Linked DNA regions of Homo sapiens: region 2 is linked to region 1. The links are contacts of gene promoters, found by promoter capture Hi-C in human tissues and cell types (Jung and others, 2019). All regions are on one chromosome and are shown on one strand. Each heading gives the region's core, a stretch centred on a gene start or on the middle of the fragment in contact. The rest is flanking DNA. Distances are from core to core; before and after follow the strand shown.

Evidence for each region. The method cuts DNA at HindIII sites, captures the fragments that hold promoters and counts their contacts. A contact is called where the count stands out against the background at its distance.
Region 2: a fragment that was not itself captured here is called in contact with the fragment with the promoter of PRF1 in region 1 in 1 of the 25 tissues and cell types used here (H1 embryonic stem cells).

The regions. Positions count from the first base shown.
Region 1 is chr10:70,601,322-70,608,487 of GRCh38, forward strand. PRF1 (perforin 1) reads right to left here and starts at 1,420. Exons shown (of 3, transcript NM_001083116.3): 1 at 1,324-1,420. The HindIII fragment of the contact is 18,183 bases long and covers 1-7,166 here.
Region 2 is chr10:71,691,063-71,698,578 of GRCh38, forward strand. CDH23 (cadherin related 23) reads left to right here. Exons shown (of 70, transcript NM_022124.6): 21 at 3,085-3,197; 22 at 4,356-4,463. Among named protein-coding and RNA genes, the nearest start is that of C10orf105, 25 kb to the right of the region's middle. RefSeq lists an enhancer at 2,991-3,060. The HindIII fragment of the contact is 4,982 bases long and covers 1-4,029 here.

The DNA of each region.
Region 1 (7,166 bases), core at 170-2,669:
TTTGGCCCCAGAACAAGCCACCCTTTGCCCACCCTGACTCTCACTCTGTTTCTTTGTCTCTGTCACTCTCTCTAACCTCTCTCCCTCCCACTGAGCCCTTAACAGAATTGGAAGAGAAATGAGGTCCTATATTGCACCTATTCTTCTCATTTTCCCTTTGGGGCTCTCCCTCTGAGCTTTATGGAATAACATCAGCCCGAATTCTAGAATAAAATCTGCCGACCTGGCCAGGTGTGGTGGCTCACACCTGTAAACCGAACACTGTGGGAGGCAGAGGCAGGTGGATCACTGGAGGTCAGAAGTTCGAGACCAGCCTGGCCAACGTGGTGAAACCCCCTCTTTACTAAAAATACAAAAATTAGCTGGGCATGGTGGCGGGTGCCTGTAATCCCAGCTACTTGGGAGGCTGAGACAGGAGAATCGCTTGAACCCAGGAGGCGGAGGTTGCAGTGAGCCAAGATCGTACCACTGCACTCCCGCCTGGGTGATAGAGTAAGACTCTGCCTCAAAAAAAAAAAAAAAAAGGGGCAGACCTGACCACACCCTTGGATTTTGTGTGGGGAGAGGCCTCGATGGTTGCTCTTCAGATCCTTTCTTGCTGCCCCTCCCCTCTTTGCCACTCCCTGCCAAGCTCTGTGGCCTTCGGCAGTGACAGGGGCCCCCCTATTGCCTACTATGGACAATGATTGTCTGGAAGGTTCTTCCTAATTTTAAGGTGTTTCTGGGGCCTTGCCTGGGCCTGTTTATGATCTGGAACCTCCTTTCTCTAACCTTACCCAAGCCTAACCTTATCCAAGCTGAGCTCTTCAAAGGCCTTTGCCCTTGGGTACCACAGGTTCTGAGACAAGAGGGCTATGGAGAGCCCCCATTATAGCTGGAGCCTCCTGCCCTGCCCAAAGGTGTGACTTGAAGGGTGGAATTTCAGGCAGCGTGGCTCGCCCCAGGGAGGCAAAGAGGCCAGGGGAATCTTCAAAGGCCCTGGGCTCATCCCAGCTAGGAGGCGGGCACAGTCATAACCCTAATCCAGTGAACTCAGCCCTCATCCTGACTCTCATGGTATTCTGTCCCAGGGAGCCTCTTTCCAGCTTTCTTAGAAGCTTTAATGTCAGCACTTGCAGGGCCTTAGAAACTGCACGCTACCTCTTCATTTCATACATGAGGAAACTGAGGCCCAGGGTGGACACAGGGCTGCCCAGCGAGTTAGTGATGGGCACCGTCTGTGACCCAGGTGTCTTGTCTTATAGGTCACAGCACTTCCTGCTCCATCAGCCTCTTCCCCTCCACCCAGGGCCCCAGGCCCCCCAATCCCTGCTCTCTCCTTACCTGGAATCCCGTATAGAGAAGCGGCTACACAGATGGATATCCTCTCTTCACCGAGGCTCCTGGAATGGTGGCATCAGCCCCCCAGGCAGCCCACTGTGGCTCCTTGCACCAGCCACCACTCACATCACTTCTACTTCCTGCCCCGCCCCCAGCTGTGGTCACAGGTCCTTTGTGCTCTCCCCTCCCACAAGCACCCACCCTGTCCTCAGCCCTCATCCGGCTCCCCACTGACAGCCCTCAGGAAGCGAGCAGCAGGGCCAGAGGCTCATCTGCCGAGTAGAGCTGCTGGGGCTCGGGGACTCAGGGCACACAGGCGGAGGAGGGCGGGGCGCTGAGGACTTTGAGACTCGGCCCTGGTGTTGATGAACAGGCCAGCAGGGCCATCTCCTTGCTTCTGATGCACAGCATCGCATGTGTGGGATGTAAGAGGCAAGCAGAGGCGGCGGCTCAGAGCATGGGCCTACACGCCAGACCGCCGGGGCTTGGGCAGCTCGGTTATGCACCAGCAGTGTGGACTGGTAGGGTTCTTCAGCCTCACTGTGCCTCAGTTTCTTCACTGAACAATTGGGATTGTAGGTCATGTAGACCCTAGGGGTTGTTGTGAAGTGCTTGGAACTGTGCCTGGCCCTTCTTGAGTGTCAGAGCCTGTGGCCATTCCCTCCTCCCTGAGTGGGAGAAGAGAGATGTTGCTCTAATCTTGCCATCCACTTCCTGCTCAACCTACATCCCACCCTAGCCCAGGCTCCGAACTCCAAGCATGTTCCTCGAACAGGGGCTCCTGCTCCTCGCTTTGTGAGGACAGCCAGTGGCCTCCACGCTGGCTCCAGCCCTGCTGAGGTCGTGGGTGCTGGTGAGAGTGGTCTGGTAGCACCGGAGGACATGTCTTCTGCACTCTGCCTTGCTTGAGGTCAGGGTGGGGTGAGGTTTCCATGGGTGGAGTGACTCACAGGGCACTGGGGGGCAAAATCACACGGCTTCTGGGGTGGGGGCAGCTGGGTAAGGGAGGAGGTGGTTCTCACAACTTGTTCTCATAACTGTGTATATGATGGGAAGAAGTGGCCGCAGGCTCCAGACCACATGTGACATCATGTCTCATGGGTCACACTTTGGGGCTCATCCCTTGCGTTTATGTCCCTGCTTCCGTCCCTGCTCTTACAGGAACAGGGGCTTATGCTGTCTTCTCGGAATCTGGCCCCATCTTCTCTCCGCAGTGTCCCCACCCTCTTCTAGAAACTGCAGCCTCCTGATCACTTTCCAGCTGTCACCCATGGCCTGACTTGGATGCTGAGGCTGTGAGGAGTTTCTTTCCTGACCATGACAGGAAGGCCGGTTTGAGGGACATAGAAGTCCTGCAAAGTATCTGCGGGAAAAGAGAGGCAAAGTCTAAACAGGTTCTGATCCCAGCTTCACCAGAAACTTACCGTATGCCTCACGGCGATAGATATCAACCCCCTTTCTGAGCGTTAGTTTCCTCACCTATAAAATCAAAGAGAGGACTTTGGAATTCTACACATCCTTCCAGCTAATGATAAAATGTACACTTGGCAGGTTTCAAGTGGCTTATGAAGTGGCTAATGCCCAAGAGATGCTAGTGGTTGTTAGGGGATCCATTAAAGAGCCGAAATGACATTGAGGGTGATGACTGTTTTTGACTCGTTTAACTGATGACAGCTGTCCTTCTGAAACTTGACACTTGAATGTGCATTAAGCAGAGTTTTTCCTCAGAGACACAAGTTTCAACAAGTGCGTAATTTGTTCAATCACCAGACACCATGTATATGGTTTTCTTTAGTAACAACAATCTTTAGATGTAATTCACATACCATATAATTCACCCATTTCAAGTATATGATTCAATGGCTTTAGTATGTTCACAGAGTTGTACAGCCACCGCTACAGTCAATTTTAGAACATCTTCATCACTTTCCAGAAATAAAACCTATACCCACTGGTGGTCATTTCTCATTTCTTTTTCTTTTTCTTTTTCTTTTTTTTTTTTTTTTTGAGATGAAGTCTTGATTTGTCACCCAGACTGGAGTGCAGTGGCATGATCTCGGCTTACTGCAACCTCTGCCTCCCAGGTTCAAGCGATTCTCCCACCTCAGCCTCCCCAGTAGCTGGGACTACAGGCATGCGCTACCACGCCTGGCTAATTTTTTTTTTTTTTTTTTGTATTTTTAGTAGAGACGGGGTTTCACCATGATGGCCAGGCTGGTCTTGAACTCCTGATCTGCAAGTGATCAGCCCACCTTGGCCTCCCAAAGTGCTGGGATTACAGGCGTGAGCCACCGTGCCTGGCCATTTCTCATTTCTTCATAACGCTAATCTACTTTATCTCTCTGTTAATTTTCCCATTTTCGACAATTCATATAAAAAGAATCATAGCATATGTGGCCTTTTGTGTCTGGCTTGTTTCATTTAACATAATACTTTCAAGGTTCATCCATGTTGTAGCATGTATCAGTACTTTAGTCCATTTCATGGCTGAATAATATTATATTATATGGACATATCACAATTTGTTTACCCATTCATAACTGATGGATTTATTGGTTGTTTCTACTTTTTAGCTGTTATGAATAATGCTGTTATGAACATTTGTGTACAGGTTACTGTGTGGACATATGTTTCCATTTCTCCTGAGTATATATCTAGGAGTGGACTTGCTGGGACATGTGGTAACTATAGGTTTAACTTTTTGAGGAAGTGTTTTCCAACGTGATTGCATTGTTTTGCATTTCTCCAGCAGCTTATGAGAGTTCTAATTCCTCCTTTCCAAATCAAACCAAGGTTCCACTAGTTCCTTGCCAAACCTTGATTATAGCCATCCTGGTGGGTGTGAAGTCGTACCTCATTGTGGTTTTGACTTGGATCTCCCCAGTGGCTAATGAAGTTGAACATCTTTCCATATGCTTATTGGCCATTTGTACACCTTCTTTGGAGAAATGTCTATTCAAGTCCTTTGCCCCTATTTTGAACTGAGTTGTCTTTTTATTGTTGAATTGTAATAGCTCTTTCTACGTTTTGACTTCTAGACCCTTGTCAGATATAGAATTTGCAAATATTTTTTCCTATTTTGGCAGTTGTCTTTCTTTTCACTTTCTTGAGGGTGCCCTTGAAGTATAAAAATATTTTACTTTTGGCCAGGCATGGTGGCTCACATCTGTAATGCCAGCACTTTGGGAGGCCAAGGTAGGAGGATCGCTTAAGTCCAGGAATTCAAGACCAACCTAGGCAATGTGGCAAAACCCTGTCTGTACAAAAAATACAAAAATTAGCCAGGCATGGTGATGTGTGCCTGCTTTTTGGGATAGTTCCAAATAGTTCCAGCTATTTGGGAGGCTGAGGTGCGAGGATTGCTTGAGCCCAGGAGTTCGAGACCAGCCTGGGCAACATGGCAAGACCCTGTCTCTGGAAAAAAAAAAAAAAATTAGCTGAGAGTGGTGGCACACACACACCCCTGTAGTCCAAGCTACTCAGAAGGCTTAGGTGGGAGGATTTCTTGAGCCTGAGGGGTCGAGGCTGCAATGAGCCAAGATCGCACCGCTTTACTCTGGCCTGGGTGACAGATCGAGACACTGTCTCAAAAAAAAAAAAAAGATTTTACAGGCCGGGAGGGGTGGCTCATGCCTGTAATCCCAGCGCTTTGGGAGGCCGAGGCAGGCGGATCACGAAGTCAGGAGATCGAGACCATCCTGGCTAACACAGTGAAACCCCGTCTCTACTAAAAAAATACAAAAAATTAGCCGGGCGTGGTGGCGGGCGCCTGTAGTCCCAGCTACTCAGGAGGCTGAGGCAGGAGAATGGCATGAACCCAGGAGGCGGAGCTTACAGTGAGCCGAGATCATGCCACTGCACTCCAGCCTGGGTGACAGAGCAAGACTCTGTCTCAAAAAAAAAAAAATTTTTTTACTTTTGTTGAAGTTCAATTTACCTATTTTTTTCTTTTGTTGCTTATATTTTTAATGCCATATCTAAGAAGGTTCTGCCTAATCCAAGATCATGAAGATTTATTCCTATGTTTTCTTCTAAGAGTTTTATAGTTTTAGCTCTTATATTTAGGTCTATTATCCATTTGGAGTTAATTTTTGTGTATGGAAAGGGGTCCAACTTCATTCTTTTGCATGTGGATATCGTATATGGTTTTGATTTTTTTAGGTTATAAAATACCTGCTTTAGATAGAACAGTGCCATAAATCTTGCTATCTTGGAATGTTCATGTCCCTCCAAGATTCATGTTGAAACTTAATCCTCAATGCAATAGTATTAAGGAGTGGGGCCTTTAGGAGGTAATTAGGTCATGAGGGTTCTGCCTTCATGAATGGGATTAGTGCCCTTATAAAAGGGCTTGAGGGAGTCTGTTTGTACCTTCTTGCTCTTCTGCCCTTCCACCATATGAGGTCACAGCAACAGGCACCGTCTGTGGAGCAGAGAGCAAACTTTCACCAGATACCACGTCTGCTGGTACTTTGATCTTGAACTTTCCAGCCTCCATAACTGTGAGAAATACATTTCTATTATTTATAAATTATCCAGTCTAACATATTTTGCTATGGCAGCAGGAGTAGACTAAGCAAGAAATTGTGCTGGGAGTGGGGTGCTGCTGTAACAAATACCTAAAAATGTGGAAGGAGCTTTGCAGCTGAGTAATGGGTAGAGGCTGGAAGAGTTTGAGGTTCATGCTGAAAAAAACTTGTATTTCTGTGAACGGACTATAAAGGGTTTTTCTAGTGAGGGTTCAGAAGACGAGGAGAACTGTAGAGAGAGCTTCAATCATTTTAGAGATTATTTAAGTGGTTGCAAGTGGAACATTGGTAGAAATATAAACGGTAAAGGCTACTTTGATGAGGTCTTAGATGGAAATAAGAAACATCTTCTTGTTAAGTGGAAGAAAGGTGATCCTTGTTATAAAGTGGCAAAGAATTTGGCTGCATTGTGTTTGTGTTCTAGTGTTTTGTGGAAGGCAAAACTTATGAGCAACGAAAGAGTATATTTGGTAGAAGAAATCTCTAAGCAAAGTGTTGAGGATGCAGCATGGCTTTTCTTGATTGCTTACAGTAAAATACAAGATGAGAGAAATGAATTAAGGGTGAAACATATAGTTAAAAGGGAAGTAGAACTTAAAAGAGTTGGAAAGTTCTCAGCGTGGCCAGGTTGTAAAGAATGAGAAAGTGTTTGAGAGAGAATACCAATGGTGTGGCCAAGTGAATGTTTGATAGGGAGATTTATATGGCTAGAAGAATGCCAGGTGATATTCATCAAGACGATGGGAAAATGGCCCCCAAGGCATTTTGGAGATCCTCAAGGCTGCCACTACTATTACAGGCCCAGAGTGCCAGGGTTTTGTGGTCCGAATGGTTTCAAGGGAGGGACCCAGGATGCCTTTGGGGCTTTGTGGTTTGCTGCCCAGGGCTGCATCAAATTTCTACTCCATGCATTCTGGCACAGAGCTCGTTGGTCACCTCAAGTGTGGCTAGTGGGCCTAGGTGCAGTGTGGTCTACAGTGGTTGTCCCTTTGGTTGCCCCATGGATACCATGCTCCATGGCTGGAGCGCCGTGCTTCATGCCCACAAGTGTAAAATTGGATACATTGGAGCATGGTATCCATGCAGTGTTAAACTGCAGTGGGGGCATGGCTATGACCACCTGGATTTCAAAGGATGTCCTACAGAGGCTTGGGGCCCAGACAGAGAACTATCATAGATGTGAGACCACTTCAGAGAGCCCCCACTAGGGAAATGTCTAATGGACCTGTGGGGTTGGGGCCACCTCAGAAATCCCCCACTAGGGCTCCCAGTGGAGCCATGGGGGCAGAGTGACCCTGGAGATGCCAGACCAGGAGA
Region 2 (7,516 bases), core at 289-2,788, 1.1 Mb after region 1:
GCACACGAAAAGTGCTAAAAAAAATTACCATCATTATTCTCTTTTGTTTATTCACCTGTGAGCCCCCTGCCCCCAGCTCCCAGCTCAGCCCATGTAACTCTCTTCTTTCTTCTTCGTCTCTCCATGTACATTCCTCAGTTTTCTCTCTTCCTTGAAGCTGGGAGAAAAAGTGGGCAGAAAGAAGCAGCAAGAGATCCAGGCTTTCAGCCAGACCTGGGGAAGAATTGGGACTTCTGTACATTCATTCATATGTTCATTTATTCATATGTTCATTCAGAAATTGGGGTGGGGGCTGCTCTGAGCCAGGTGCTGGGGTACAGGAAGGAATAAGACATGGCTCTGACCTCATGAGGTTGCTAGTCAGCTCAGTGGGCATGCAAGGCACCCCACTTCCAATACGCATTTCTGTATGAGTTAAAGGAACTGTCGATGCTAAACAGCTACACCCTATCTCAGTGGCTTGAGACAATACAAATTCAAATTCATATAGTCAACCCATGTAGATGTTGAGTGACAGCCTTCCACATGATGATTCTGGGACCCAGGCCCCTTCCATGTTGTGGCTCCAAGGTCACTGCAGAAGGGAAAAGAGAGCATGGGTTGTCAGAGCACTAGGAGGAGGTTATGGGCCAGGCCCTGCCTGGCAGTCACATCCAAGTAATAATTCTCCCCTGGGAAGGGAGCAGGAATCTTTGGTGGACACTGGCCATCCCTGCTGCAGGTGGTCAGTGGCCAGCAGGGCATCAGCTCTTCCTGCTATCCATCCCTCCACGTTGGAAGTCAGCCTTCAATCCCTTTTCCTGGAGGCTTGGGGAGCAGATGGCCGGTGCTGATGGGTACGAAGACTGAGGAAGGGGACCCAGGGCCACTGTGAGCCTCCTTTTCTATCTCTGAGAAAGTGAGGGCCCTCCTCCCAGCTCTCAGGAGCTTCCCCCACAGTGAGCCCTCATTCCCAGGGGTCTCAGAGTCATGTCATGAATGGATATGAACCACATGCCCAGCACTGTTCCCAGGGCTCTGAGCAGCAGCAGCATCTCATTCTGCCCTCCTCACCTGTGAGGCAGGTACTAGCCTTATCCCCATTTTCCAGATGAGGAAGCTGAGCCACTGGGGAGGTTAAGTAACCTGACTGAGGACTCGCAGAGCACGAACTTCTGACTCCAGAATCCAAACATTAAAGGCGCCATTATATGAGTAGCTCCCTGGCCTTTTAGCCACCCCCGCCCTTGCCTCCCCAGTCGGGGCTCCAGCTCCACCTGGGGCCTTTAATGACACAGACATTTTCTTGCTGCCTTAACACGACTTTGTCTCCAAAGGTGTAAGTGTTTTCCTCTGAGTTCCTCGGTCAAATTAGCCAGGGCTGCTCCACAGAGGTGGCCTTAATTGGATCTAATTTCCTAGACAGGAGAGGCCATCTATCATGCCGACAAGTTCACGTTTAAAACTTTTTAGAGATTAATTTCTTCCTCGCCCTGCCAATTACTTGACACCACCCTGGCAGGGAGTGTGGCTCGTTGGGCAGACCTTTGTGAGTCTTCCATTCCTGGCCTCAGCACCTAAGCTGCCCTGTCACCCACCCCCAGCTCCCTGCTCAGCCCCTGCACAGACCAGAGGGCAAGCCAGTGTGCCACAGAGGGAACTGTCAGGGTAGAAGCAGTCCTAAAAGCAATCTGGTCCAGCTGCCTTGTTTTATGGTGGAAAGAACCAAGCACAGAGAAGTTAAGCGACTTGGCCCAGGTCACACAGCTCAGGCAATGGGGATAAAAAGATGGATAGCACACAGGCCCTGCCCGTGGAGAATGCTCACGGTCCATTGGAAGAAAACAGTCATTTTCTGAGTGTTGGGAGCCTCACCTAGAATTACTGTAGCCTCACAACGGCTCTGCATGGAAGTCACACTAATCTCCATTTTATAGATGAGAAAACTGAAGCTTCAAAGAATTAAAATTCTCCAAGGCCAAGCGTCTGGGAAGGGCCATAATCAGAATTCAAATCCACATCTCACATCTTCACCACGTGGGTGCTCTCCCATGGCTGATGCAAGATAGTAAATGGCCTGGCTGCTGTGATTGCTGAAGTCTGCTGGGACTGGCTCACCCTGCTCCCAAGAGCTAGCGAGGCACTCAATTGTGAACTCCATATTCAATACCACCAAGTTGGTAGCTTAAAATGGGCCCTGGTGGGGCTATTTACACCAAGGAAATTGGCAAATGCCTTTTTTTTTTTTTATTTTGGGGAGCCAGTTGTCAAACATTTACCAGCACGCCACTATCAGGGTGATGTTTGCATTTCAGTTACACCAAAATACAAAGAAAGACCAAATACAGGCGAACAAGAAATGTTGTTTAATTGTTCAGATTTAGCACACTAAAACAACTCGAGGCAATGTAATTATGCTCTTCACAATGTAATTAGGAAATTATTTTATAACTATTAATTATCAATGCACGATAAGGTTGGATAGGTTGAACTGTCCAGTAATGAGTCACAAGTTAGACGCATGTGAACACCCGGTGTTTTTATTTCCTGTCATTGTATTTCTGTGACTGTATAAATAAACAGTGCCTGGCACTGTTCTAAGATTTCCATGATCTTAATTAAATTAACCCCACAATAGCCCTATGAGGTAGTTCCTATTATGGTTCCCTTTGGACCCTATGAGGAAACTGAGGCACAGAGGATTGAAGTAACTAGCTCCAGGTGAGAAAGCCAGTAAGATAATGTCAAAAGTCTAAACAAGAGGTGATCTGTGACTGAGCTTAAGGCCTAATGGCCCTCCTGCCCTGTTCTCCAGCCCCTAACCCCGAGAATCAGCCTAGATTTTCCCACATCTGCAAATATTTCCTCCTCATGGGGTTATGTTGCCCAGCCCTGGGGAACCAGCTCCCAAGGCACAGGAGCTCTCCCGTCTCCCACTGTGAGCACCAGCTCAGGAACACATCCAGGCCGCCAGATCATGGTAGCTTGCTAACATTTCTCGTGCAAGTTCTCACCCTCTCTCCTTCCCTCGCTCTCTCTCTTCTTCCCTCCCTCTCTCCCTGGCCCACCCAAACCCTCTCACGCACCCACTTCTCTCTCTGGCAGGGGAAATCACCACCACGTCTCTGCTTGACCGAGAGACCAAGTCTGAATACATCCTCATCGTTCGCGCAGTGGACGGGGGTGTGGGCCACAACCAGAAAACTGGCATCGCCACCGTGAGTGCGCTCCCCTCCCGTGCCCCAGCTCCCCCTCGCCGGCCAGGCTGCTGCTCCCTGCTTGTACCTCTGGACCCCCGTGTCCTGAGCCAGTGTGAGGCTTTGTGAGAATGAGCAAGGGGGCGAAAATGAACCCATCAGCAGCAGAGGTCAGCCCCCGGGGCCACCACAGCTGTGGGGAAGAAAGGCATCACCACCAGGAATGTAGGGGCACTTGGGAGGAGCAAAATGAAATACTTTCTCTCCTGCCCCTAAAAATCCAGGAGGGCAGGTGGCAGAAGGCATGAGCCCCATAGGCCCCTCCTTGCCTTGGTGCCTGTCAACAAAGCAGAAGCAGGCATTCCTGCGAGGAAGAGCAGCTCAGAGCAGGAAGCAGGGCCCTGGAGGGTCCCTGGGGGCTTGTTCTCCCCCATCTAATGTGCCCCAGAGAGTAGAAAGCTAGAGGAACGAAACGTGGGGGCCTCGAATGAGCTCTCGGCTGCAGAAGTGAAAGGGGAAGTGAGAAGCCCTCTGTGGGAGAGGAAGCGGGAGGACCAGCTGACAGTCACTCCAGCCACCTCCCCTCTTTGTTCCCCATTCGGTTTCTTTGGCTCACCCTCAAAACTGTGGCCCTCACCCAGTCTGCAGCAGCCACCCCATCCTTACCCAGCCAGAGAGGCTGGAGACGGTATCGCGTGGCCAGGGATTTGATGGAAAAATCCCCAGTGCCCTACTCTGTCAAGGGAGGCTCCTACTAATAGGAATCAGAGCCCTATAAATAATGTACCTGGTGGCAGGTGAGCAGGGAAATTGCTTGGCTTGTAGCTGAGACGGGGAGGCTCAAGGGATTCTATTAGATCCCCCACCCTGTCAGTCACCTTCAGCCAAGACTGGAGGCAGGGATGGGGGAAGCCCCAGGTCACAGCAAGGATTTCAGGGCTTATCACATCCATTCCACTGCCTCCTGATGGGACAACACTGGAACTCTCTCTCCTGAAGCGGCCTGGCTCCTTCCTGCCCTCGAAAGCCCAGGCTCTGCCCAAGGCTCCCAAGGTTGGTGGAGCTGGCAGAATTAATGCGAAGATTGCCCGTGGGCATCTGAGCACTTTTCCCCTGGCAGGCCCTGCCCTGGCCCATCTCAGCTGGGTGTGTCTCCCAGCGCCCCTTATGGCTTCACAGGTAAACATCACCCTCCTGGACATCAATGACAACCACCCCACGTGGAAGGACGCACCCTACTACATCAACCTGGTGGAGATGACCCCTCCAGACTCTGATGTGACCACGGTAGGTGGTGGCAGAGCAGCAGAACTGCCAGGCGGCCCTTCCCAGGGGTCTGTGCCCCTCCCACTGCGATTCCAGGGGGCCTTCCCCTATGGGGCTGGTGGACTCTGTGTCCCTCTGAGCTGGCTCTTGCAATAGAGTTCTAGCGGTTCTCCTGCATGGTGAAAGGCAGTCAGAGGTCAAGGGAAAGCCCTCATCCGGCCTCCAGTGTCAGTAGGCCTCAGGCTTTGTCAAAGGGAGCTTCAGGCAGCCCAGGGACAGTGGCAGGGGAGCTCTGGCCGGTTCCGCTTGTGAGCCACACGTGCCCTTAGAGCCCAGGACTCTGGCCACCCCCTCTGGAGAGCTCCCACCCCTACACTGCACAAGCCCCAGCTCCACCCCAGCACCTGTCTTTCACTGCTGTGCCCCTGCAGTCATCCATCTGGGTCACCTCCCCCACGGGCTGGCCCCCACGGCTGCCCAGCAGGGGTTTTGTTCACCTCAGGAATTTTCTGGCACAGGTTTGCCAGGTTTGCACAGGCCCCTGTGTGTGTTGTGTGCTCATGTGCAGGAATGTGCACAATTCAGGGTGCAGAGGGGAGACACGGTCAAAGCCAGGGCATCTCCAGCGGAGACCAGAATCCTGGGGAAACTGAGGAAGCCCAGGTCCCACCCCCACACCATCTGCTCTGCTGGGAGGTCCACATTTTTCAGCCTTCTCCTCCCCCACCCTGTACACCACGTGGCCTTACTTGAGGAGGCTTGTCCCCACATGAACATCCCCACTGCCACCCACCCAGCCCTGTGGGGGACATGAATCCTGGCAATTGACTGAACACCTGGGATGTGCTCTGAGCCTCCCCTGAGGGCTTCTCAGGAACTCTCTCCTCCTCACTGTAATCTCACAAGGCAGAGGGATTCCGTTGCCACTGCACTGTGGAGGAGACAGACTTAGAGCTTAAAGGCTTGCCCAAGGTCCCAAAGCTAGTAAAGGGTGCGGTCAGGACTCGAACCCTGGTCTGTCTGACTTGGAGACAAGGGATTAGAAACCACCTGGCCCAGTCCTTATTCCTCTGGGAGGGGGCACCCACACACCAGCTGACAGCCAGTCAGTGAACAATGTGGAAAGGAAGATAGGCATGACGGCCAATCCTTCCCTCCCTCTTTGTCCTTCCTTCCAGGTTGACCTCCTCTCCCATCCAGAGCCACTGCCAAGTATGGCTCTGGCACTGGAATAGGCACAGTGGAATAGGGCAGAGGTGAGGGATCTGGAATCTGCGATTTTTTTCAAAGCCCCGTAGAGGAATTCCTTCCAGCCCAGGGCCAGGTTTAGAAACCAGGACCCTCGCCCTTTGACACAGCTCTCTAGGCTCTTTGGTGGGTGCTCTCTGCTGCCGCCTTGTGGGCACTGCACTGGCCCAGGGTAACCTCCTCCCCACCCCAGCCAGGGATTCCAAGAGCTGGGGCTGGATCTCACCTCTGAACACCTTCTGGTCAACCCTCACCTTTCCCTTAGGTTTTTGGGAAATTCCTCCCAAAGGGGATTGAGGGGCAGGTGAGGAAGGTTGCTCTGGGAAAAGGGGGCTGCACAGGACACCAGCCTGGATTGCCGTTATCAAATAGTACACCCGGCAGACAAGGCGTGGGTGTGCCAGGTGAGGACTGCACACAGTCTTGGGCATCTGCAAGCTTTGGTCCCCCCGCCCTTCACCAGGTCTCCTGCCCTCCACATGTCCTTCTGAGCCATGAGCAGGCATGGACAATGGACCAAGGACCTGCTGCCCAGTGCCTCCTCACTTTCCAGGAAATCCACGAGCTATCAGGGAATGCCTACTGCATGCCAGGCCCCACGCTTGTCAGGCTGAGGGTACAGGAAGCAACACCAGGCCAGGTGCAGTGGCTCACGCCTGTAATCTCAGCACTTTGGGAGGCCAAGGCAGGCAGATCGCTTGAGCCCAGGAGTTTGAGACCAGTATGGGCAACATAGTAAGATCCCCACCCCCTTTATAAAATTTTTTTTAAGTAGCCAGGTGTGGTGGTGCACACCTGTGGTCCCAGATACTCAGGAGGCTAAGGCAAGATGATTTTTGAGCCTGGATGATAGAAGCTGCAGTGAGCCAAGATCACACCACTGCACTCCAGCCTGAGTGACAGAGTGAGACCCTGTCTCAAAAAAAAAAAGGAAGCTCCCGCCCTGCCTGCCTTTGGGGAGTGTCATGTCACTCTTCTATTCAAACCCCAGTGGTTCCCATCTCACCCTGTGCAAAAGCCAGAGCCCTTGCCAGACCTACAAAACCCGCAGGGTCTGCCCCATTGTCACCCCTGAGGAGTCAGCCGCATCATCCCTATCTGTAGTACAGAGCGGGTGTGGCTGTTCCACCGCTGGCGTCAGGTGGGCACAGGCTGGAGATTTTTGGTGCCCCAGGGTAGTATTTGAGACCTGAAAAATAAATGTGATGACCTGAAAGTTCAAAGATAAAAGGGCAAAATCAAAATTAAAACTTGTTATATGAAACATCTATCAGATGAAAGATGGCAGCTTTAGTAACTATGAAATTTAGTGTTTGTGAAAATTTCATTACATTCGAGGACAAATTGGAGGTTAGATTTTTCTAGAATTCTTGAAAATTTTCCAGAATTTTCTGGAATTCCCAGTTACGTATGATGATTGCCAGGAAATCAGAAATCAAGAAGCTTATATGTTAGTCAAGTTTGTCATAGCCAAATATTTTGAAAAGGAAGTTATAAAAATTATTTCCAATTTTATAGCCATAAAATGTATATATGCATACATATGTATATACATGGGTATGTCTCATTACCTTGGAGAGGACCCCCTGGAGACTTCTAGGGCCTCACAGTGCCCCAGGTTGAGGTAGGGTCTGTGGCCAAAGTGTGAGGTGAGGTGGCTACAGAGGGAATAGCTAACAGAGTTTCAGGTGACAGAAGGAGGAGGTGATATTTGAACAGGGGCTGGCCCACCACCTGACTCATCTCCCACCCCACCCTTCCCACACCCACCGCACACACCCACGCCCACAACCACCACCCATCCCCAACACACAGGCCTTTCGTTT